2 separate regions of the Homo sapiens genome follow, and region 1 is linked to region 2. Evidence: promoter capture Hi-C in 16 types of primary human blood cells and fetal thymus (Javierre and others, 2016). All regions are on one chromosome and are shown on one strand. The core of a region is centred on a gene start or on the middle of the fragment in contact, and the rest is flanking DNA. Distances in the headings are between cores, read along the strand shown.

The links. The method cuts DNA at HindIII sites, captures the fragments that hold promoters and counts their contacts. A CHiCAGO score of 5 or more calls a contact.
Region 1: a contact is called between a fragment that was not itself captured here and the fragment with the promoter of PLAGL2 in region 2, in 1 of 17 cell types (endothelial precursors). The highest score is 5.3, in endothelial precursors.

The regions. Positions count from the first base shown.
Region 1 is chr20:32,510,507-32,516,486 of GRCh38, reverse strand. It overlaps NOL4L (nucleolar protein 4 like), which reads left to right. Exons shown (of 11, transcript NM_001256798.2): 4 at 5,031-5,140. LOC101929698 (a long non-coding RNA gene) reads right to left here. Exons shown (of 3, transcript NR_110619.1): 1 at 5,819-5,980; 2 at 5,099-5,272. Among named protein-coding and RNA genes, the nearest start is that of NOL4L-AS1, 48 kb to the left of the region's middle. RefSeq lists a silencer at 5,114-5,509. The HindIII fragment of the contact is 4,104 bases long and covers 1,012-5,115 here.
Region 2 is chr20:32,205,801-32,211,884 of GRCh38, reverse strand. It overlaps PLAGL2 (PLAG1 like zinc finger 2), which reads left to right and starts at 4,142. Exons shown (of 3, transcript NM_002657.3): 1 at 4,142-4,244. POFUT1 (protein O-fucosyltransferase 1) reads right to left here and starts at 4,005. Exons shown (of 7, transcript NM_015352.2): 1 at 3,820-4,005; 2 at 1,693-1,814. The coding sequence starts at 3,943. RefSeq lists enhancers at 3,666-3,795, 3,258-4,171 and a silencer at 3,936-4,355. The HindIII fragment of the contact is 5,170 bases long and covers 59-5,228 here.

The DNA of each region.
Region 1 (5,980 bases), core at 1,814-4,313, 310 kb before region 2:
CTCTCAGCTCTTCCTCCAGTGACCCTAATGGCCTCACGTCTGTCGCACCCTGCTCATCCTTCACCCTTGTTTCCTGAGCCTGGGGACTGCACCGCACACAGTTTCCTCACGTTCCCCACCCGGATAGCATGCACATCAGCACTCCTCGAAGACTTGCCAATTCAATGATTTACTTCCCCAGGAAGGAGATTTTTTTTTTTTTGCCACCTTTTGAGCTGGTCTCAGGCCTGGGATCTCTGTTTCCAAATTTGAACCCCCTGAGGCTGGCTGGTCTCACGGCCTCTCTGTGCCAGGCCCCCATCGTGCACACATCCTTCGACGCCCACCCCTGCCTGGAAGATCTTTCATACCTGTCTCTGGACTGAGAGTTCTTCGTGCTGTAGGTGAAAGCTTGTGAGCATCACCACCTGGTGTTCCCACGAGGAAATGAGGGTCACTCCCATGGTTGAGGTTTGCATTGGTTGATGAGTGCCATTGGCGCCCAGCTGCACAGGCCAGCAAACAACCTGGCTTGGCCCAAGCACCCACATCATTGATTATTCTCGAGACTGCATAAAACTAGGTCTAGTGCCTGGGCTGGTTTCCATTTTTCTTGGCAAAGAGATGTTGAAAGATCTCTCTGGGCTCTTGTTGTGCTTCTCTTGCCAGCAACCTGCTGGATGATTTAGGCTCCGTGACCCTTGCTAGCTCCTAGCTCACCCTTCTCCATGGCAACAGAGTCCAGCGGTGCCGCACTATCAGGTCATTTGTAGAGGCTCGAGTGTGGCACCACATGTTGACCATGGGCAGGGAGGGGGGCGGCGTGTCTCAGAGTCCAAGGAACCCACTTCTTCCTTGTTCACGTTTCCACCTGACCTTGTCCCCCATCCTGGCGTTTTTCTCACTGGTGAGCATCTGACTCTGCGGCTTCCACTGGCCCCTGCTCCGTCTCTTTCCCACTAAGCCCATCCTCTCAGTGTGCACCCACTTATTGAATCCAGAACACCTGGGGCTCCTCACTGCTGAAAAGCTTGCCTGCTTTTCTCCTCACCCTGGTGTGGTTGAGCTCTGACCTCCCACCCATGGCTCCATGGCTCATTTCCTCACCTAGAATGTCCCCTCCCTGCGGAGGTCCTCCCTCCCCCACAGAACTCTCATTCTGGAACTGCAAAATCAAGCATTTCACCTTACAGCAATGTAAGGTGTTCTCCGATGGGTTTAGGGGTCTGCTCGGGATGTTCCAGCTTCCCCAAGACCAGGACATCCTGCCTTCCTCTTCTGAGCTCTCTTGGCTTACCTGCAGGCACGGGAAGTGGTTTCTCATCTCTGGAGACACTGGGGTGGGAACAGGCCAAGGAAGACCTCTTCTCACGCCTCCCAAGGGTGCTGTCCTGGCCACTGTTTTATTTTTCCTAAGCCACACTGTCACTAGCTTTATTAAAGATACTTTCTCATGAACAGTCATGACACTGCAGTCAGGACAGGGGCGACCATCAGTAGAAGAACACAGCTCCCCGCCTCCGTGCCTCCCAAACCTAGACAATCCCTGCAACACCCAACGAAGGGCCGACCGGGGCCGCGAGAGTGCTGGGCGCCCTTCACACTCACCATGATGTCACACTCACCATGGTGCTTAACAGCTTCTCACCAGACAGCCTCCTCTTAGAGGAAACAGAAATGGCAGAATTCTCAGTCCAAACATCCACCTCTGAAAACAGGACCCACGGCTCTTCTGAGCGATACCATCTCAGTGTCATCACTAGACTGCCTGCCTGACATGTGGCATCCGACCCGGTCAATGTATGGGGCTAGGGTTTAAAACCCCACTGAGGTTAAGAAAGTCAAATCTAGGTTGACGGTGGGGTGGAAACCCATTTGAGTTTGGTATCGGTGCAGAGGATCCCTGCCACCCAACCAAGCAGAAGTCTCTCTTAAAAAAAGGAGGAGGAGGGGGTGGTTCCTTTCAGGCCAGTTTCTTAGCCATTCCATTAGTGACATTTACTTTTTTTTTTTCCTTGGGACGGAGTCTTGCTCTGTCACCAGGCTGGAGTGCAATGACATGACCTTGGCTCACTGCAACCTCCACCTCCCGGGTTCCAGTGATTCTCCTGCCTCAGCCTCTGAAGTAGCTGGGATTACAGGCATGCGCCACCATGCCCAGCTAATTCTTGAATTTTTAGGAGAGTGGGGGTTTGTCATGTTGGTCAGGCTGGTCTCCCAACTCCTGACCTCGGGTGATCCGCCTGCCTCAGCCTCCCTAAGTGCTGGGATTACAGGTGTGAGCCACCACACCCAGCCGACGTCTACTTCTTCCTCAAAGAACAAAGAATGAAACATTCTATATGTGACAGGGTAGCTTTAAAGAGCAAAACTAAGTTCTGCATTCCTGTAAAACTTTATTCAAAATGTTATTTGATCTATAAAGTCACCAGAAGTACACAGCGTCAAAGAGGACCCCCATCCTCTAGGCCCCAGCTATTCCGGGTCCCCACCTTTTCTGCAGGGCTGTTCCTATCCTTGCCAAGCAGGAACTTCCCTTGTCCTCTTTGGGTAACTTCACCGCTTGTTGGCAGACTTTTTTTCCTTTTTAAATTATGGTAAAACATTTACAGCACAAAAACTTGCCTTTTTAATAATTTTGTTTGTTTGTTTCTGTTGTTGTTGTTGAGACACAGTCTCTGTCACCCAGGCTGGATCGCAGTGCTGCCTCAACGTCCTGGGCTCAGGTGATCCTCCCACCTCAGCCTCCCGAGTAGCTGGGACTTCAGGCACGTGCCACCACACCCAGCTAACATTTTTACCTTTTAGTAGAGACGAGGGACTCACTATGTTTCCCAGGCTGGCCTTGAACTCCTGGGGTCAAGCAGTCCTCCTGCCTCTGCCTCCCAAAGTGCTGGGATTACATGCGTGAGCCACCGTGCCCGGCTTAATCGTTCCATTTTAAAGATATTATATTCACACTGTTGAGCAATCATCACCACTATCTATTTCCAAAACTTTTTCATCACCCTAAACAGAAACTCTGTACCCATTAAGCAATAACGTCCCATTCCCTCAGCCACCAGTCCCCAGTAACCTCGAGTTACTTTCTGTCTCTTTGAATTTGCCTATTCTAAGTATTTCGTGTAAGTAGAATCATACAGTGGTTGTCGTTTTATGTCTGGCTTCTTGCCCTTGGTATCGCGTTTTCAAGGTTGCAGGGACCCTTTTGGGCTATGGCTCTTGAGGGGCAGGTATTATAAGTCACCCCCGGATATCCTCTGGTCCTCCTGGACCTCGGCCCTGTCACCCTGCAGCCTGTCTCTTGGGCCTCCTTGTGATGGTAGAGGGCACTTGGTCTGGAAGTTGCTCCCACTTTTCCTCACGCTATGGAAATCCCAGCCCATCAGTGGGACTATGTACCAGGGGCACCTTTTGATTAAAAGGCTGGGGCAAAATGAATCTGGCCTGAAGTCCTTGGAAGAAGGAGGAGGAGGCCAGGTAACAAGTAATTGAAACAATTCCTACAGCAGCTTGGTCAGAGATTTTAATGGTTATCAAATTATGTCCCTACCTTTTAATTTCTTGTAATCTGTTCCAAAAAGGCAAGAAATAAGATCAGAAATACGGAGCAATATTTATGCACAAAGATGTCCCCTGCAGTGTTGTTTATAATAGCCCCAATGGGAACAACCTAAATAGCCAATCGTTAGAGAATGACTTAAGCAAATTATGGTAAAATATTACATGGCCATAAAAATTCTACTTACAAAGCAAAATAAGATTCTTGATGTTGGGGAAAATACCTATGACAAAATGTTAAGGAAAAAAAAACTTTTTAAAAGCAGACTGGAATTCTCTGTATGCATTATGAGATCATGTGTAAAAAAGAAAAATCACAGGGAAAAAATAAACAGAAGCATATGCCAAGCTGCGTGGTGCAATTATGGTTTTTAAATTTTTTCTTTACATCTTTCTGTACTTTGCAAATTCTCTGCAAAAAGAACATGCATCACTTTGATCTTCAGGACAACAAAGGAATAAATGGGAGGAGAATGTTCCTCTGCATATGATGAAGGAGGAACCAGAATTTGGGGGCTACTGAAGGCCTGGCTCAGACCTGGGAGGCATAAGGCACCTGAGGATGTTTTTGGGGGATGCTATGGGGTGGCGGGATTGGGTGAGGTGAGAGTGGCATGTGTTCACCTGGAAGATAACTGACTTAGACAGTGGTTGGAAACACAGATGCCTTCAAGGGTCTGGCAAGTATCATAATTGATACTTGCAAATGAGCAAAGCTGTGCAATATGATAAGGAGTGGTGGGGACTGTGGCAAAATGGGAGCCACACACCCTGTCTAAAAGAAGTGGCTGCTGAAGTGGCAGTGGTTGCTTGCCTTCGGGAGTGGGGGCCCCATGTGGCCAGACCTTATGTTCTTCAAAGAAGCCAAAAATTCCTATAAACGTGTGTGTGTGTTGTGGGGGTGGGTTTGCTGGGTTTTTTTGTTTGTTTTTTAGAGATAGATTCTCACTCTGTTGCTGAGGCTGGAGTGCAGTGGTGCCATCACAGCTCACTGCAGACTGCAGCCTTGACCACCTGGCCTCAAGCGATCCTCCCACTTCAGCCTCCTATGTAGCTAGGACTACAGGCACACACCACCACGTCTGGCTAATTTATTTTATTATTTGTAAAGACGAGATCTCCCTGTGTTGCCCAGGCTGGTCTCGAACTCCTGGGGCCTGTGTCCCCTCCTGGGGCTCAAGGGATCCTCCTGCCTTGGCCTCCCAAAGTGCTGGAATTACAGGCATGAGCCAGCACGCCCGGCCTCATTGTTTTTTAACGTGTGAAATCTCTAAATAGAACACTGGCATTTAATAAAAAAAAAATATTTTTGACACCATGCAGTCCACATCTCTGGGCCAGATGTGGGTGAGCCACAGAGTCTGCGACCTCTGACCTGTCCCTTCTCCTCCAAGGTGGCTTCCTCTTCCACGGGCTCTGTTAAATGCTCCATGTGGGCAACAGGCCCGCAGCACAGACTGAAAGGGCTTTCCTTTTGTTCTTTCTGCCAGAAAACGAGCCTCCATCTCCACTGGTCTCTGGGATTATTGATTACAACATGCCCCTCACCTCCACCTACCTGAAGCAGATGAAGCTTCGAGTGATGAATTCCCAGGAGCAGGTAAGGCGGCCGTCTCCCCTCACCCCACCTGGAGGCGTCCTGACTTGCCTGGCGGTGGTTGATTCTTTCCAAGACTTGGGGCCACAGCTTGTGTAAACACACGGGAAATCAAAGAGGCCCTTATCTGGTTATCTGGGTTGTCCAGGCGGAGAGGCGGGAGGCAAGAATGTGTTTCTCGTGAGAGGGTCTCCTGTGCAGACAGCCCTGCAGGTCTTCAGGGAGAAAACTTTCCCCTTGGGTGGGCTCGTGGGAGGAGGGGGAGGAGGGGACGTGGAAGGGAGGGAGCCGCAGCCCTGGCCCCTGGAGTTGTTCTTTCTCTGCTCTGCCCTTTATCGCTGGCCTCTTGCCACCTTCCCCCAGGGAGGCAAGAGAGAGTAGCCGCCTGCCTGTGGCCTCTGTCACTCTTGGGGCCCAGAGGACTAGGGGATAGTCCTTGGAGGGTGGACCTGGGGCCTCCTGGCCGTCCAAGCCTCCCCAGCTGGGGTTTGCCAAGGGCCGTGAGACACCATGGAAACAGGCTATGAAAAGAAACTCCCTCTCGCCTGCCTTCCCACACAGTCCACCTCCTAACCCTTTGCAAAGCACGTAGCCTGACTGTCTTTCAAAGAAGGACTAGGTGAGTTCCCCTCCACCTCCACCCCCCAACCACTGCCTAAAACCAGGGTAATCACTTCTTGCCTTCAGCTTGGAGTGTTCTCATCTCTTATGGCATCCAAACCCATCATGTCCTTGTGGCCCTAGCAGGGGATTGGATTCTTTCTCTCCCATTGAAAGATGGGTCAGAACTCGAGTCTGTCTTCCAGCCCTGGATGCAGCTGTCCTGCGCTGCCGGTCTCCAGC
Region 2 (6,084 bases), core at 2,893-5,392:
TAGATTGTAGCAGGGACAGGTGGTGTCTTGGAACAGGGAAGTTCAGGAAGGAGAAGCTTGCAGGGTCAAGTGCCAGTGGGAGGTCAGGTGAGAGAAAGACTGGGAAATAACCCCTGCCAATTTGGAGGTCACTGGTGACCTCAGTGAGAATGCTAACAGTGGCGAAGAAGAGCCTTGTTGGAGCAGGTTAGTAAGCCACAGAAAGCAAGGAAGTGGGGACTTGGAAAGACAACTGGCTGAGAAGGCAAGGAGACAGAGGCAAGCAAGCCAGAGGGAGATGGATGGGCAATGTCTACACTGTAATAGTGAGTGCGAGGCCAGGCGCAGTGGCTTATGCCTATAATCCCAGCACTTTGGGAGGCCAAGGCAGGCACATCATGAGGTCAAGAGATTGACACCATCCTGGCCAACATGGTGAAACCCTGTCTCTACTAAAAATACAAAAATTAGCTGGGCGTGGTGGTGCGCCTGTAGTCCCAGTTAATCAGGAGGCTGAGGCAGGAGAATCGCTTGAACCCGGGAGGCAGAAGTTGCAGTGAGCTGAGATCGTGCCACTGCACTCCAGCCTGGCAAGAGAGCAAGACTCCATCTCAAAAAAAAAAAAATAGTGAGTGCGAAATTATCAGAACATCAATGGTTTCCATTAACTGAGGACTCTAGGATCTGTACGTTGATAAGCTCAGTTGATTCTAAGAGGGAGGCGGCATATGACAACACTGAAGGCGTGTTACTGCCACTGACACATTCAGTCCTTACCACAAGAGGGTAACAAGAATCATTACCAGCTTATTTTTAAAATGAGGACACTGAGGCACAAAGAGGTAAAGTACCCTGTCCAGGCCATGCAACTAGTAAGAACCCAAGTCAGACTATGATCTCTGGTACTCTGGCTTTTGACTGCTGCTCAAAACCTCTGTAAATACTGGCATGCAAAGGAAAAAGTAAAATCTATGCAGAGAAAAGGTTGTAAGAATGAAATTAAGTGTTTTGTTCACACTAAGTATTATTTCTGATGTCTATTGGAAAATTATTAAGTCAATTCATCAAATACTAATTAAGTTCCTACTGCCAGGCTCCGGGAGATACAATATGAACAACGACACAAGGTCACTGGAAGACACAAAGAATAAGCAAGGAACTGGGGGCCGGTGAGCATCGCATGACAAGGGAGCCCCTTGATGGGGTGAGAGGCAGCACTGAAGCCAGACTACCTGGGTTGTGGCCTTGGACATGTCATTAAATAACCTGTGCCTGCATGTCTCCTTTAAAATTGATAATAGCATCTGCCACCCTTGGCCAATGGAATGCACAGAGGGTAGGACCAATCAGGGAAGGAAATGGAGGCTTTAGGTTCAAGTCACAGGCTCTGGAGTCAGACAAAGATAGCTTTGAATTCCAGCTCTCCTACTCACAGGCTGTGTGATCTTGGGCAAGTTACCTAACCTCTGTAAACCCCGGTTTCCTCACAGGCAAGTGATGAGGGTGAAATGAGCTAATTCTCATGCAGCCGCACACAACAGGTGCTGGATAAATAAATGTTAGGCATTGTTATTGCAGTGAAGACAGTTCTGGCTGGAGGTAGGGAAATCTCAGAGGAGTGGGAGGTAAAGCCCAGAGGACTTGAGGGTTAAGTGTAAGTAAGCAAGACTGAGAAAGGGCGGAGAAAGGCCAAGGTCAGTGGGAAGTACTCACGTTGGTGAAAGGAGGCTTGTGATGCTGGTACTCAATCCAAGGAGGGACAGCCAAGGTACGGTTTAGCAGCTTTGCAAATGCCAGAGAGCCCAAGAAGTGATCGGCCTGGTTCCCAAAGCGCCCTGGAAATGGTACATTGCGGGTGAGGTGAGGCCTGGGGCATGGAGGGCATAGAGCATGCAGGGCTCAGAAAGGTTGTGGAGCCAGGGGTAGAAAGTCAGGGATACCAAGGAGAACTAGGGGAGCTGGCAGCATAAGAACAAGTCTGGACTCTTGGGTCTGATATCCAAGGCTCTTCAGGTCCTGCAACAACTGCTTCCGCCACTCCAGGTTTCTTGCTGTTTCCCCAACATGCTCTACAATTCCCATCCCCACCCAATGCCTCTGATCTTGCTGTCCCTCAGCCAGAAGAGCTTCTACCTCTATCTCCATTCACCTGCACATGGACGGGCAACTCGAATGCCTCATTCACTGGGCTCCTTTCACCAATCCCCTGCCATACTCACTCTCCCTCCTTTACCTCCCACCTTGGCTCTGAGCTACTTCAGTTCTTCAATTTTCCTCAAGTATCTTTGCTCACTTCCTGGCCTTCGTACTGGCTGATTCCTCAGCCTGTGAATGCCTCAGAAGCAAGGACCCTGTGTGATTCCTTTTCTTAATCCCAGCATGGCACCTGTTCATTCATTTCACAAATATGATTGAGAGGCCACAATGTGCCAGACTCTGTGCTAGGTGCTGGGATACAGGAATGAACAAGAAGGACAAGGCCTCTGCCCCTAAGGCACTCACAGTTCACTGCAGAGACACTAAACATGTAAACAAATACATGAAAAATGTTGATAATTGCCAGAAAGAGATGAAAAAAGTTTGGTGATAGGGTAATGAGGAGATTACTTGGGTAGAGGTCAGTGAAATCCTTTCTGGTGACATTTAGGCTGAGATCTAAAGGATGGGAAACAGCTGGTCAGGCAGAAATGGAGGAGAGGATTCCAGGCATAGGGACCGCCACCTGCAGCAGTGCAGACTGGAAGACCTGAGCATGTGTGAGGAACGCAAAGGAGTTAAGTGTGGCTGCAGCTGGAGGATCAGCAGAGAAGGGAGTTGTGGAGATGGCCAGTGGAGGCCACATCATTCAGGGCCCTGAAAGTCATGGTCAGGAGTCTGGAAGCCACTGGGGGCCTTAAGATCATCCACTTCCACAATGATGATCCACCATACCCATTTCAACTGTGCACCTGGCATGGTCTTTAGATTCTCCCCTACCCTGCTCTCTTTATTTTCCCTTAGTATTCATCATCCTCTATGAAACTATGTATTTATTGTTTTATGTTTACCCCTTTTTGGGTTTGCTTGTTTCGAGACAGGGTCTCACTCTGTCACCCAGGCTGGCAGTGCGGTGGCACGATCAGAGCTCACTGCAGCCTCGAATTCCTCGGCTCAAGAGATCCTCCCACCTCAGCCTCCCAAGTAGCCGCCCAGATAACTCCCAAGGGACTACAAGCACACGATACCACGCTCTGCTTTTTTTTTTTTTTTTTTTTTTTGAGATTGGATTTTCACTATGTTGCCTAGGCTGATCTCGAGCTCCTGGCTTCAAGTGATCCTGCCTCGGTCTCTCAAAGTGGTGGGATTACAGAAGTGAGCCACCGCGCCTGGCCTACTTATTCTCAATTGTTTGTCTTCCCCAACTAAAATGAAGGCTCTACAAGGACACGGAGTTTATCTTATTCACTGCGGTATTCCCAGTACAGAGAACAGGGCCCGGCACAGAATAGGTGCCCCATAAATATTTGCTGAATCAATGAAAAATCACCAGGAGCCAGCGTGGGTCAGTGACATCAAGTCCTGCCCCACTAACTCCATTTACTGGACCCTGGACTGGCTTAGACCTCAAGCAAGTCACGTAACCTCTCCCAGCCTCAGTTTTCTCATCTGTCAAATGGAAAGTTGGACACGTTGGCCCCTCTGTGCCCTTGCAACTAAGGCAGAGAGGAGAAGAGCATGCCCCGTCCCGCTCTGAGGTTCTCTCCTGGACCTGTGAAGGTGTCTCTGGGCGCATCTGAGGAGTGGCTTTTCCTCTCCCGGCCTCAGTTTCTCCATCTGAGCAGAGGGCTTGGGAGGCCTTACCCATGCAGGGGCAGTAGAGCAGGTAACCGGCCGGGTCCCAGGAGCCCGCAGGCATCCCCGGGAGCGGCAGAAGCAGCAGCAGGAAAGACACGCTCAGCGGCCGTGCCCACGCGGCGGCGCCCATGTCGGCCCGGGAACCCGAGCCAGCCGCGGCGCACAGTCGGGGAGGGAAGGAGGGACGCGAGCGCCCGCCCCGCTCCCAGCGGTCCCTGCGCGCCGCCCGCGCACCGCCCCGGCCGCTCTAGCCCGCGGGCGGGCGGGACCATAGAGATCCCGCGGCACCGCCCCCTCCACGACCCGAGCGCCCGCTCGCGCGGCTCCCACAATGCACCGCACAATGGCCCGACCGCCGCCACTACCGGGGCCTGAGGGGGCCTGGCGGAGCCCGAGCGCGGCCCGGCCCGCAGCGTGGGGCCCCGAGCGCGGTGAGTGCCGGCGAGGGCCCCAGGGGACGGCGGGGAGAGGGGCGGGAGGCCGTCTCGCTGCGTCCGCGCGCCCTGTACCCGGAGCGGCGGCGCGCCTCATCTCGGGCCCCTCAGCGCGGTCGCCCACACCCCCGACCCGGGGCCCGGTCTGCGCCAACCCGGCCCCAGATAGGCCCTGGGGTGACGAAAACTCTCCCTGGACCCCATACCTGTGTCTGGGGGACCCGAGGAAGCCACCGGTCCCCTCCCTTCCGAGACCTGGAGACGCAGTCCTGAGGGTCCCCCATTCCCGACCCCTAGGCTCCCTGGAGACCCAGATAAGGCGCTGCTGACCTTACCAGGGACCCGGGTCTGGGGGACGCAGATAAGCTGCACCTGCTCCCTCCCTCCGACACGCCTACCCAGACCCACATAACCCCCTTTCCTGCTCCAGATAGCCCGCTCTGTACCCTGTTTCATTTTCCAGACTTACATAACTCCCTTTGAGGCTTCCCTCAAATATCTGGGTCTGGAGAAGTCGAATAAGCCCCACCTGTAGTTCCCTCCTCAGTGGCCATACTCCCAGGCTTTCGACATCTTCCATCCCGTTACCCATTTTGAGACCCTCTTGAAATTCAGAGGATACACTTCTGACTATCCCCATCCCCCCAGCCTTCCAGCCCTTATAATCCCCCATTTCATTCTTGTGGGGATCCCTTAGAGACCCAGGAAAGTTGCTCATGATTCCTTCCCATCCTCGCTCTTCCTTCCCATCCCAGAGACTCCCTCCAGACTTCTCCCTGGATTTCCTTTGCTTCTCCAGCCCTCATCCACTCCCATCTCTCCCAGGCTCGGGGAATTGAACCTTTCCCACACCACAGTGGGGTGATCTAAAAGTTGGCCTGGGACCAGGCTGTGGCCCACCTTGGTGGGGAGAAAGGGGCCTGTTAGGTGGAGGATATGGGGACACCTGTGTGGGGGAATCGGTGCTTTCACCTGCAAGCTTAGCCTGTCTCCTGGCTTGTGTGTTTTTCCACCTGTCAGCCATGGGACTGTGTGTAGAGTCTGGTCTTGGGTTTCTAACCTTTCTCTCCTAAGGTGAGGCCACCAGATTGGGAGCGGGGGTGTCGAATCACGTTTTCTCCCCATGAAAATGGGGTTGTGATGAGTTGCAGCCATTTGTTCAAGGCCTCCCCAGGAGTGGGAGGCAGCAGGAATCTGAGGAAATAGTGAATCAAAGAGACTCCAAAGAGGGCCCATCTACACTGACAGAAGAATTAGCAGCCTGAGAGTAAATCCAACCCCTGTTAATCCTGTTTGATGTTTCTTGGAATGGTGCAAGTCATTGAGACTCTCCAGCCTCCCTGTAATTTAATTCTCCCACCACTCTGGAGTGGGCGGGGGGGAAGGGGGCGACAGCATTCCCATTTCCCCTCTTCTCACTGTTTTCCAGCCAACCAGTGTGTTTTAGGATTTGTTTCTGGTTCTGAGATCAGGATCTGTTTTTTGTTTTGTTTTGTTTTGTTTTTTCTTTCCTCTAAGTCTATTTATAATTTCCCAGTTGCTATTTTGGGTTCTGCTTAAGGGAAGATTCTATCCCAAGGAACGTTCTGGGTCTATTTCCTCCGGCAGGTGTTGAATTGAGTTCTTCAGATCCCCAAGTAACTCTTGGGCAGGAGGATAAAAGCTATTTTAGGGTAGTCACTGAAGTGGAGCTGTTAATCCTCTGTGGGTCTCTTTAGTTAAGAACACTCAAAGATTAACCCTTTCCTTGTGCAGGGGTGTTATCTCTCAACTGTTTTTTAGGGGGGAGTGAGGAGAATTTGAGTGTGGCAGCAGAAGGTGGAAACATGCAACTCAA